Regions from separate parts of the Homo sapiens genome. Here all the other regions are linked to region 1. Evidence: promoter capture Hi-C in 16 types of primary human blood cells and fetal thymus (Javierre and others, 2016). All regions are on one chromosome and are shown on one strand. The core of a region is centred on a gene start or on the middle of the fragment in contact, and the rest is flanking DNA. Distances in the headings are between cores, read along the strand shown. Region 1 holds the start of RPS13 (ribosomal protein S13). Region 2 has its middle 42 kb from the start of HSD17B12. Region 3 holds the start of PUS3 (pseudouridine synthase 3).

Region 1 (3,829 bases), core at 1,139-3,638:
TCACTCTGACTGCTAGGTGGAGAGTGGGTTGTGTTTAGAGTGGGGACGTGACCAGACGGTGTGGATACTACAGAGTTGCCCAGATAGGAGGTGATGGTGGCTGGGACTGAAGGTGGAAATGGGGCAAAGGGAACATATTCATGATACATTCTTGTGGTAGAGCTGGGATGACAGAGGGAAATCAGAGAAAAACGGAGATGCCTAGGTTTGTATTAAGTTTGAGCAAACAGGATCGTGTTTAACTGAAACAAAGGGGCATGGTTTGGGAATTGGAGTCATATTAAATTTGAGATACCTATTCCATATCTGAACTAAAAATGTAAAATTGGCTAATGATAAACTTTGCTAGAAAAAAACATTACCCAAATAGGGTACCCGATTTGACTAAAATTCCTAATGCTTTGGGAAAAGTTATTAATCAAATAGTGACAGATTATGGCTTTTTTGGGGGGGAGGGGTGTTGTTTTCTTGGAGAACTGACCCGTTTGTTGTTATAAAGGGTTCTCTCTTTATCCCTGATACTTTTTTTTTGAGACGGAGTCTCGCTCTGCCACCTAGGCTGGAGTGCAGTGGTGCGATCGTGGCTTACTGCAAGCTCCGCCTCCCGGGTTCACGCCATTCTCCTGCCTCAGCCTCCTGAGTAGCTGGGACTACAGGCGCCCGCCACCACGCCCGTCTAATTTTTTTGTATTTTTAGTAGAGACGGGGTTTCACCGTGTTAGCCAGGATGGTCTCGATCTCTTGATCTCGTGATCCGCCCGCCTCAGCCTCCCAAAGTGCTGGGATTACAGGCGTGAGCCACCGCGCCCGGCTATCCCTGATAACTTTATTTCAAATAGTGACAGGTTAAAAGTTAAGAGCGGATGTTTCAGTATCTAGTTTCCCAGCGTCTTGCCAGTTACTTTAAGCTTGTCGACAGGAGTTTGATTTCACTGACCTCCCTCCTTCCTAGAGCTATGCTTACTTTTTAAAATTTTAAGAAGCTGCTTCATTTGCCCATTCTTTCAACGCATTGTTGTGTACCGGCACTGAGTCAGTCTTTTTCTTTCTTTCCTTTTTTTTTTTTTTTTTTAAGACAGAGTCTTGCTCTGTTGCCCAGGCTGGCGCGCAGTGGTGCTATCTCGGCTCACCGCAATGTCCTTCCCGGCTCCAGAGATTCTCCACCTCAGCCTCCTTCGTAGCTGGAACCAAAGGCACGAGCGAGCACGCCCGGCTAATTCTTTGTATTTATAGAGAGGGGGTTTCGCCATGTTGCCCAGGCTAGGTCTGTCTTAAAAGAGCTTCTTCCGGCCAGGCGCGGTGGCTCACGCCTGTAATCCCAGCACTTTGGGAGGCCGAGGCGGGCGGATCACCTGAGGTCGGGAATTTAAGACCAGCCTGACCAACATGGAAAAACCCGTCTCTACTAAAAATACAAAATTAGCTGGAAGTGGTGGCGCATGCCTGTGATCCCAGCTATTCAGGAGGCTGAGGCAGGAGAATCGCTTGAAGCCGGGAGGCGGAGGGTGCGGCAAGCCGAGATCGCGCCATTGCACTCCAGCCTGCGAATCAAGAGCGAAACTCCGTCTCAAAAAAAAAAAAAAGCTTCTTCCTTGACGGTTCCCTTTTCCCATGAAATTCAAATGCTTCATTTTATCCCTCATCCTCTTGGCCTTTGCAGTCTTGCTCCCAAGGCTCTTCCCTGCCCGCCAACTCTCTCACTTGGGAACATAGCTCCGTAAGCCTCTGCCCAACCCTTCTCCCCGGCGAGCCCAGCGCCCCAGAGCCCTGCGCAGGGGAATTCGAGTGCGGAGGGCGGCAGGCATCCGTGGGGACCTGGTTCAACTCCTTAGACCGGTTCTTCACCGTCAGCGACTCTCCCCTGACAGATTAGGGTAGGATTTAGAAATGAGAAATGGAAGCGCTGGCTGGGCGGTAGCCGCTGCCATGGCTTCCCGTGTGGTCCTCATCACATGCTATTGTATCTGTTAATTTATTAGGCGCAGGGCCGACTCTGAGGGATCTAGTGCCAGGACAAAGCCAGGCACTGGTGAATGAGCAAACACCTGTGTATGGCTGCTTCTTCCAGCCCTACCTGCTCCATACCCACCCCCAGCGCAGCATTCGAATCTTTGTGATCTCGGCGTCCACAGGGAATTTCGACGCAAGCTGGCGTCAGCCTCAAATTCCCGCTCTGGCAACAAGGCTGACCAAAGACCGATGCATGCCGGGATGAGGCTGGATTGACGATCTCTTGCGACGCTGAAATGCATTTCGGGAGATGTAGTCACACAGACGGGCGGTGGCTGCGCAGCGTAGCTCCGCCTCCTGCGTGAGAGGAAGCGGGGACGTGTGAGGTCACTTCCTGCGTGTTGGGTGGCTTCCTGCGGCGTTTCCACTCTCGCTCTCCTTTCGTTGCCTGATCGCCGCCATCATGGGTCGCATGCATGCTCCCGGGTGAGCTCGGGGCATCAAGCCGGATTGCTGGGCGGGGGGTGGGAGGAAGACAGGGAGTGTGGGCAGCGGGCCGAGGGGATGATGTTCTGGGCTGCTCTGGCACTAGCCGCCACCTCACCTCGAGACTGCTTCTCTCCCCAGGAAGGGCCTGTCCCAGTCGGCTTTACCCTATCGACGCAGCGTCCCCACTGTAAGTAGCGCGCTGGGACCGGGGAGAATCCGGGGAGGGGGTTGGCATTTGTCTCGGGTGAAGCGACGCCAGGGTGAGGAACTTGCGTGTATGAGGAGCGCGGTTTTGCGGAAGGAGAGACCGCTGTTCTGCGGCGCCATTCCTGGGTTCTCATCCTAAGGCTGCTTTCTATTCCATAACAGTGGTTGAAGTTGACATCTGACGACGTGAAGGAGCAGATTTACAAACTGGCCAAGAAGGGCCTTACTCCTTCACAGATCGGTGAGTGTTTGTGTCTAACATAGCCTATTTCGCCTGTCCTCGTGTGACTTGTAGGATCTAGTAGGTGGTAAAGTTATTTTAAAAATAGCCAAAACTCTGGTCTCGCCACCGTGCTAGAGGCATCATTGTAAGCACTTCACATGTACTGATTTCGTTTAATTCTGACCACAATACTTTGAAATAAATCTTCATGGCTTTCACCCCAGTTTACAGTTGAGGAAGCAGAGGCACACTGCCGCTGGATACTAACCAGCCCCAAATCACACAGCTGTCAAGTGGAGGAGTTGGAATTGGCTAAGCAGAGTGCCTGACACAGTTCCTCACAGTTAGGTGTGGTTTGAATCTCAGCTGCGTGTGACTTCGTGCAAGTGGCTTCATTCAGCAAATGTTTACCTTCTATGTGCTGAACATGGTTCTGGGGCCTGAGAACATACTACTCTCCGACTCCCCCGCCCAAAAAAGCCAGCCGCAATGTGCCTGTAGTCCCAGATACTTGGGATGCAGAGGTGAGAGGATCACCAGAGCCTAGAAGTCCCAGGCTGCAGTGAGCTATGATGAAGCCACTGCACTCCTGGGTGACAGAGAGACCCCACCTCTTTTTTTTTTTTTTTTTGAGACAGTCTTGCTCTTGTCGCCCAGTCTGGAGTGCAGTGGCGCGATCTCAGCTCACTGCAACCTCCACCTCCTGGATTCAAGCGATTCTCCTGCCTCAGCCTCCCGAATAGGTGGGATTACAGGCGCCCGCCAGCAGGCCCAGCTAATTTGTGTGTTTTTGTTTGAGACCGATTCTCACTTTGTCACCCAGGCTGGAGTGCAGTGGTATGATCTCGGCTCACTGCAACCTCCGCCTCCTGGGTTCAAGCAAGCAATTCTCCTGCCTCTGCCTCTGGAGTAGCTGAGACTACAGGCCGCACCACCACGCCCGGCTAATTTTTGTATTTT
Region 2 (3,726 bases), core at 138-2,637, about 27 Mb before region 1:
AGGAGATGAAATTTTTGCTATTTTCCTATAGAAATAAAAAAAAAACAAGTAAATGATTATGATTACTTCTGTTCTGTAAAAAATCATGATGGACATATAGATATTTGTATTTTTGAGTCCTAATTTTATGTAGCAAGTCTGAAATATAATTAAATTAAATTAATGCTGCAATTAAAAACCCCATTTTGAATTTTATCACAGATAGTAGTTTCTGATATACTTAGTTTTTCTGCATTTTACCCTGCCACTGACATATTTTGGGGGTCTTATTTATGACTCAATAGTTTTAATACTTTCAATATATTTAAATAATTAACTAGCCTTATCTATTTTAAAAATTTCCTAATACGTAACAATTCTTATTTTATATATAGTTTCTATAGTCTAAGCTTCAAATAAACATATGAAAGAAAAAAACCTAAACCCTAGAATTTCTAAGTTTCGAAAGGCCTTTCTATCTTCAAATCAATTTTCTCGAACAGAGATATTTAAAACCCTACATACTCTAAGATGGAAATGCTGAATACTCAATTTAGGCTGAATTTTTAAAAACGATTATACTGCTTCTCCTTCTCCCTCTTTCTGCCCACAATTGTCTCTCCTTTTTAATGCAGGTTTACATTCATGAACTCACATGCCTCCTCTCCAAAGAAAAATTATTTTCTGCTTAGAAAATTTTACGATTTCTTACATATTCCCTTCATTCCCCATAAGGATCTACTACTTCAAACTTTAGAGGGGGGGAATGAGAATTAATTGTGCTGCTTTCCCCCCTCCCCACAGTGTTTTTCCTACACCAGTTTTCTAATTATTTCTTCTATGAATCCACCATTCCCCACTTTTTTTTTTAACAGACCAATAAAATGCCTAACATTCTTCTCCCCAGCATTTGCGGGCATATTCTGATTTTATTTTTGTTTTCATGTTTACTCACAGTTTAGTTAAGCTTATCTCTCCATACTCCAAACATAACCAATTTTCACTCCCTACTAGGTACTTGTGGACTTGCAATTTGCCAGACCCTGGCAATTTCTTGTTCTTCACCAGGGCATCCCGCTTAGGGTTCTCATACAGGTGAATAAAGTTGGAGAGCACAGCTGAGTGAGAACCACAAGAAAGAATGCCAACCGCAGACACCACCCCTCATTTCACGAAAAGTATCTTGCTCAGAACTGACCCTGGTGCTTCACAGCAACATAGAACGTATAAAATTCCTACGCACAGACACTAAAAAATTGCTTTCCCTTATGCCATTCTTGGCAACCTTTGGTTTCCTAAGCTAGTTTTTTTTTCTTTTTCTCTTTTTTTTCCCCTGAAGGATGTGACTTTTGTGGTACAAGTTTGCAAGTACTAAGCAGAGGTTCCTTCTATGGATAGAAGAGATGTCAACTCACAAGCCCAAGCAATTTCTAGGGCAGAAGCAACAGGACCTACTGTCTCCACCCAGACTAAAGGCTTGAGTGCTCCCTCTCATTTTGCCTTGTCAAAATGAGGGATTGTAACTAGGCTGTGCCTCAGTTTCTTCATCTCTAACTTGATTCCATTACCCAGCACAACAAGCAGATACTGAAGTGGGAGCAGCCAAGGGAAGCAGAACCAAAAGGCAAAAAGAAGAAAGACCTAAACTAAGATAGTATTCAGCCCTCAGCTCTACTCGTTTTCCTGAAGCCTTTCTCCCAGCAAGGTGGGCGGGCTGTGCTGTTAGGCAAGGTTGAAGCGTCCAATATGGAGAGCCTCTAATATCTCCACACCTTACAAAAGTGCAGATGAGAAAAAAGTGCAATGTTTTCCTTTTTAAATTAAAAACAATGACAAACTCAAAGCTTCTTTCTGAAGTACTTAAAGATGTGGTAGGTAAATAATGCTTTTTATAAAAAATAAAACACAAGTGGGTACAGAGCCATAAAAATCTTATCTTTGATTCACCCTCAGGGCTGTTGGCTTATTTTTCTCCAGGTAAACAGACACACTAGAGATGTGGACTTTCACAAGTGTCCTTATTCAGACCCGACACTATTGGAACTGGGGAGCTAGCACAGTGGGGAGCCCTTAAATCTTCGGGAAGACTCCCTCCAACCCAACCCTGTCTCGGGAAACTGTCAAGGAATGTAGCAAAGCATTTTTAGTGTTCTGAAAGAGGACTTCAGTCCCCTTCCCTGCTCAGAACTCCATGCCAAATTAATCTGACTCATTAGTCCTATTGAGACACACTGTTATTTAAAAGAAAGCATTAGGCATAAACTTATTTATAAGTAATTATTTAAAACACCACGATATATTAATCTTAAAAGAGTAAGGGATTAACATAAACTGCTTACTAGGTTCAACACTAGATGCAAATAGATCCTTCCTTTGCTGGAACCATCAATGCTGCCAAGCTCTCCCCCAAACTTCCCTTTCCGTTTAAGAAAACCAAGTTCCTAGAAATAATAAAATAAGAGTTTTCTTTTTCATCAACTTTTAAACATTAGCTACAAATCCATTCAAAAACTGTTTAGCATAAAATTAGATTATCTCTTTGCCCTTTCTGCCTCTTTCCCTTCCTCTTTTAATTAATTTGGGAAAATTCACTGCCTTACCCACTCTACTTTCCTACCTGGACATCACTCTAAAACTGAAGGAATGTCCGCTTTCCCTTCATCCTAACATGAAATCTCTCTTTAAACACACCACAAACTTCCCTGATTTCACTGTACTGAAATCCTGGCCAGATTTCACCAAACTCTATTCTCATAGAAAAGTAAAATGTAAAATGAGGGGGTTGTACCAGACAATCTCCAAGGTCCCATTTAGCACGAACATTCTATATGTGTCTATGATGATCCAGAGAAACTGGAATATCGCCATATAAGCACCCGAATTTGGACTTCATTTCTATATGTGTTACTGCTGCCTCTCTCAGTCTGCTTTCCCTCCCCCTCCCAGACACTGATGGTTTATTTAACAAAGCCCTCACTGAAAATCTGCATTCTGACAAATGCCACAGAGGCAGATCTACCCTTGACTCCACCAGAGAGCCTTCAAGTGCACAGAGGGCCATGGTAATAATTTGCTAATTATTACTCACTGGCTTGCCTAATGTTAACCACCTAAATATAACCCCTCCCCATCCACAATGGTATTTACATATCACTTTTTCTCTTACACATTATTGAAATTTCATAGCTTTAAAAACAGCCTGAAAAATACATGCACCTTCCTAGCTCATGGACACTGTGTTTCTATGAACTTGTTGCTGAATTACAAATTAACACACATTTTTCTGAACGAACAGTCTCCTATTAACTTTGCGTCTTCAACATAATTATTTCTTTCTCTAAAAAACCATTCTGTATCACTGATGATAACCCCATCCTTTCCATTAAGACCATGACAATCACTAGCACCTGTTTCTGACCCAATAGAGGATCTGTTAATACTACTGTAGCACATTCTTCTAAGAAAAACAATAGTGTCAGCCAGGCACGGTGGCTCACACCTGTAATCCCAGCACTTTGGGAGGCCAAGGCCTGCGGATCACCTGAGGTCAGGAGTTCGAGACCAGCCTGACCAACATGGTGAAATACCAGCTCTACTAAAAATACAAAAATTAGCTGGGCATGGTGGTGCATGCTTATAATCCCAGCTACTTGGGAGGCTGAGGCAGGAGAATCGCTGGAACCTGGGAGACAGAGGTTGCAGTGAGCCAAGATTGTGCCACTGCACTCCAGCCTGGGTGACAGAGGA
Region 3 (3,753 bases), core at 981-3,480, about 110 Mb before region 1:
TTCATGGAGGAATGGACGAAACGATTGGGAAGGTAATGGAGAGTGCTGAATGTCACACTAATGAATCCGCGGTGTTTCACTTGGCAGGGACGTGATGAAAGCAAAACAATACTTTTTAATCATTGAGGTCGCTCTGCTTTGCCCTAACAGCACTCACCTATGTTTCGGACTGCAGTACTCTTAATACCCCAAAGGTTCTTCCGGGGTTGGCTGAGGTTTGAAAACTATTGAGAGACACAAATTTCAACCAATATTAGGATGCAAGCCCTCAAGCAGCCCAGTGCTTCCCTACCACAGGGGCTGGGAGGGATTCAGGGAAGGACACCCGGGTATTGCTTCCTTTGCAATATTAGGTAGCAGCAGATTCCTTTCAAGGTTGGGTTTCCTGTATGAGTTACCCTAAAATTGGAGATTTTCTGTATTCCCTGTACATGCAGTTTCTCTTTCCTAGGCCTCTAGTTTAGAGTTGGGCAGTACTTGGGGCTCACGGCACCAACAAGGGGAGGGTGGCTAGGAAAGTGCGCTGGCAAATGGATGGAAGCGAGGTGAGGCTTAATGGGCAAATGGGCAGAGTAGAAAACTCGGGGTCTAGCTGGGACTACCAGCTGCGTTCCCACCCTGGATTTCCAGGGGTCGTCATTTTTGCCCTTTCTAACCAAAGGTCTTGCCTCTCGTGGGGGTGGGGACGGGGTCTCCCTCTGTGGCCCTCTTCCAAACCCTTCCCGCATCTCCCCTCCAGCATCTGACGCCCCACTTCGAACGCTCGCGGGCTCTCCCTCCCCTCCCAGCCGATCTCCCTCTGCGAGTGGGAGCTCCACCCCCGCGGCTGTGGCCCCCCGGCTCGGTGGCGGTTACGTGGCTGTTCAGCCGCTCGCTCTCCGCCGCCCCTGCGTCGCCTCCCCACAGTAACGACGCCATGGCTGCGATTGCTGCTCCCGCCCCCAGCACGTGCTTCCACCACCGGCGCGAGGCGGTGCTGGCCCCATCCGCTGGCCAATGGGCTTCCTTAGGGGGCAGGCGTCCGCGTCCGCGCCCGCGACCACCGCGGTGCGGCGCGCAGGCGCTGGAAGGCTGGGTGGCGCGCGGAAGGGGCGGAGGGCAGAGAGCGGGGCGGGGGGCAGAGAGCGGGGCGGAGGGCAGAGAGCGGGGCGGAGGGCAGAGAGCGGGGCGAAAGGGCGCGGACCGGAGGGCAGAGGGGGCAGCTTCCGCAGAGTGGAGAGCGCCCCCCGCGCCGCCCCGCGGCCCGCCGCTCACACAGCCCTCCAGGCGGGAGCCCCCCGGACTCCCCGCCGCGCTTTACGCCCCGTGTCGGTTTCCCTGGAAATTTCCGCCTCCACATCACAAGATGTCAGAAAGGTTAGCGAATTGGTTAGCAAAGTGGAGACAAAATCTGATGAATTTGATATGACGAATGACCTCGAATGCCACAGTTGCGGAAAGGAAGCAGAACTGTTCAAGCTCTAACTGCTGTTCCTGCCCTAGATACCTGTGATGTTCCACATAGGCTTTTTAAAGCTTTTATTCTGAAATGTGGTCTCTTGTTAAAAACATTACCTTTCGGTATAACCTCTACGTCCTACATGCGTTTGCATAATCCGGTATAGATCCCTGGATCCCTGGTACTAATGATTTAATGACCGCTCAATTTGGACGAAAGAACCAAATTCCACCTCCCCCCCGCCCCCCAGTTTTCTAATTGTAATTTTGAGATTTTGATCAGCATTTCTGGAATTGGGGGCAAAAATACAAAAACCCACACGAAACTGCAGTCATGATCTCTCCGTGGTGCTGAAGCAACGCTCCCCGCTCTGTTCGGTCACTCTCAGGGCACCTAGTCGTTTGTTTTGAGATTATCATATTCATTTCAGCTTTTAATTTGAATTCTAATAGTAAATGTTTTTGTCTCTCAATGGTAACTTTCTTCTCATTTAACTAGGTATAAAATCGAGCCAAGATCTTCAATCTTTTAGTTTTCGTATAAGGATAGCAGAATTTGAAAAATTACCTTTTTTCTATTATTTTAGCGTAGCACTACAATTCCTCCTTTTATTGCTGTCCCGCCACAGGCCCAGATTCTGCCCTGTGGGCGGAGAAACGGTAGCTGGACTAGAAAACCTCAGGTAGATTCTAGCACCAAGCTCGGTTCTCAGAACTACATTTCCCACAAACTTGGACTACACCTCCCATGAGGGCTCGGGCGCCTGCGCAGAAGACGCACAGTGACAGCTTCCTTTCTCGGAAACGCGGCGCGGCCGGCTGCCGGAAAGTAAGTGTGGGATTTTTGGAGTGGGTTACTTTCTGGGTTCCACAGGGGAAGGGACAAATGGACACACTGCTGAACGGTTGTCTGTTGTCTTCTTTTTGCCCTCTTTCACATACTTTGGTCTTTTCAGGAAAGCATTGCCGTATGGAAATGAGACCTCGCTTAAGACCATGTATTTTTCTTTTGTGCCTGGTACTTTCTGGAGCTCTCGGTGGAAACTCGCCGCAGTAGGGTCGTCTTTAATTCCGTTGTGACGGGAGCTTCAGTGGTACTTGTACTGTGGAGTACAAAAGTGCTCTGCTGCCCCACTTAGAATTGGGTGCTCATAAAACAGTAGAAGTTGAGAACCCAGGAGTATGTGGGAGGCTGTGGCAGCAATTTTCAAATTATTTTGGGGATTGCCTTACATACAGACCACGATTGCTTTCTAGTGATCATAGTGCGTGTCTGCTAATCCTTTGGACAGTACTCCCTCTTCTTCCCTTTGGATTAATATAAAGTTTATCAAGAGGAATGCTATTTATGTGTTAACCCACTGGTTCCTGAGATTAGGACTTTTTTTTTTTTTTTTTTAAGACTGTCGCCCAGGCTGAGTGAAGTGGCGTGATCACTGCTCACTGCAGCCTCTACCTCCTGGGCTCAAGCGATCCTTCCACCTCAGCCTCCAACTAGCTGGGACTGCAGGCGTGCGCCATCTTGGCAGCCTAGTTTTTAATTTTTTAATTAACACACGGTCTCGCTGTGTTGCCCAGGTTGGTCTCGAACTCCTGACTTCGAGCGACCCCCCCTCCCCCCCGCCACCACCCCGTCTTGGCCTCTCAAAATGTTGGGATGACAGGCGTGAGCCACGGCGCCTGGCCCAATGTATGGAACATCTGGTGATGGCCGTTTTAGTTTGTAATTGGTGCTTAGGGGACACACGAATTCCCTCTCTGTGGTTACTTCGCAGCCCTGGCCAGGGTGTTACTTTAAACGTCTGCTTGGGAACTCCTGCACTTCACCCTGAATTAGGGTAAGGTGTGCTGGAAAAAGCACTGTAGTGTACCAAGTCCTGTTTTTGCCACAAATCTGCCTTATGACCAACTAGACTCACTCCCTGGCCTAGTTCTTTAGTTAGCACGGGAGTTGAACTTTGGAGACTTTGGTAATGTTGGACTTTGAGATCCAAATAATCACTGGAGTGTTTTGCATGTTAAAATCACCATGTAATTTTTGACCTCATAAAAAGTCGAGGTATAAATACAAATTACCTTTAATCCCACTACTCGTTAGGTTTTGATCTTTCCCTGTGTGTACTGAGATCATCCTGTATAGTTTATGATACATTCATGTCACTTAATTTCACCTTCCCATATTACTTTCCCAAGATTCCCAATGACTATTTAATATTCTAATGTCTTTAAAGACATTTACTATTCCACTGTTGGTGGACAGTTTGCAGTTTCTACTTTTTTGCGGTGAGTATATCCTACATGTACCTGAGTCATTGA

What was found. The method cuts DNA at HindIII sites, captures the fragments that hold promoters and counts their contacts. A CHiCAGO score of 5 or more calls a contact.
Region 2: a fragment that was not itself captured here is called in contact with the fragment with the promoter of RPS13 in region 1 in 8 of 17 cell types (non-activated CD4 T cells, naive B cells, fetal thymus and 5 more); the score reaches 21.3 in non-activated CD4 T cells.
Region 3: a contact is called between the fragment with the promoter of PUS3 here and the fragment with the promoter of RPS13 in region 1, in 2 of 17 cell types (total CD4 T cells and total B cells). The highest score is 9.7, in total CD4 T cells.

What each region holds. Positions count from the first base shown.
Region 1 is chr11:17,076,226-17,080,054 of GRCh38, reverse strand. RPS13 (ribosomal protein S13) reads left to right here and starts at 2,388. Exons shown (of 6, transcript NM_001017.3): 1 at 2,388-2,436; 2 at 2,578-2,626; 3 at 2,809-2,887. The coding sequence starts at 2,414. RefSeq lists an enhancer at 2,155-2,354. The HindIII fragment of the contact is 8,959 bases long and covers 1,587-3,829 here.
Region 2 is chr11:43,637,251-43,640,976 of GRCh38, reverse strand. It overlaps a transcript of HSD17B12 not described here. Among named protein-coding and RNA genes, the nearest start is that of HSD17B12, 42 kb to the left of the region's middle. The HindIII fragment of the contact is 877 bases long and covers 949-1,825 here.
Region 3 is chr11:125,901,683-125,905,435 of GRCh38, reverse strand. PUS3 (pseudouridine synthase 3) reads left to right here and starts at 2,230. Exons shown (of 4, transcript NM_031307.4): 1 at 2,230-2,266. DDX25 (DEAD-box helicase 25) reads right to left here and starts at 928. Exons shown (of 12, transcript NM_013264.5): 1 at 856-928; 2 at 158-224. The coding sequence starts at 918. The HindIII fragment of the contact is 3,679 bases long and covers 1,518-3,753 here.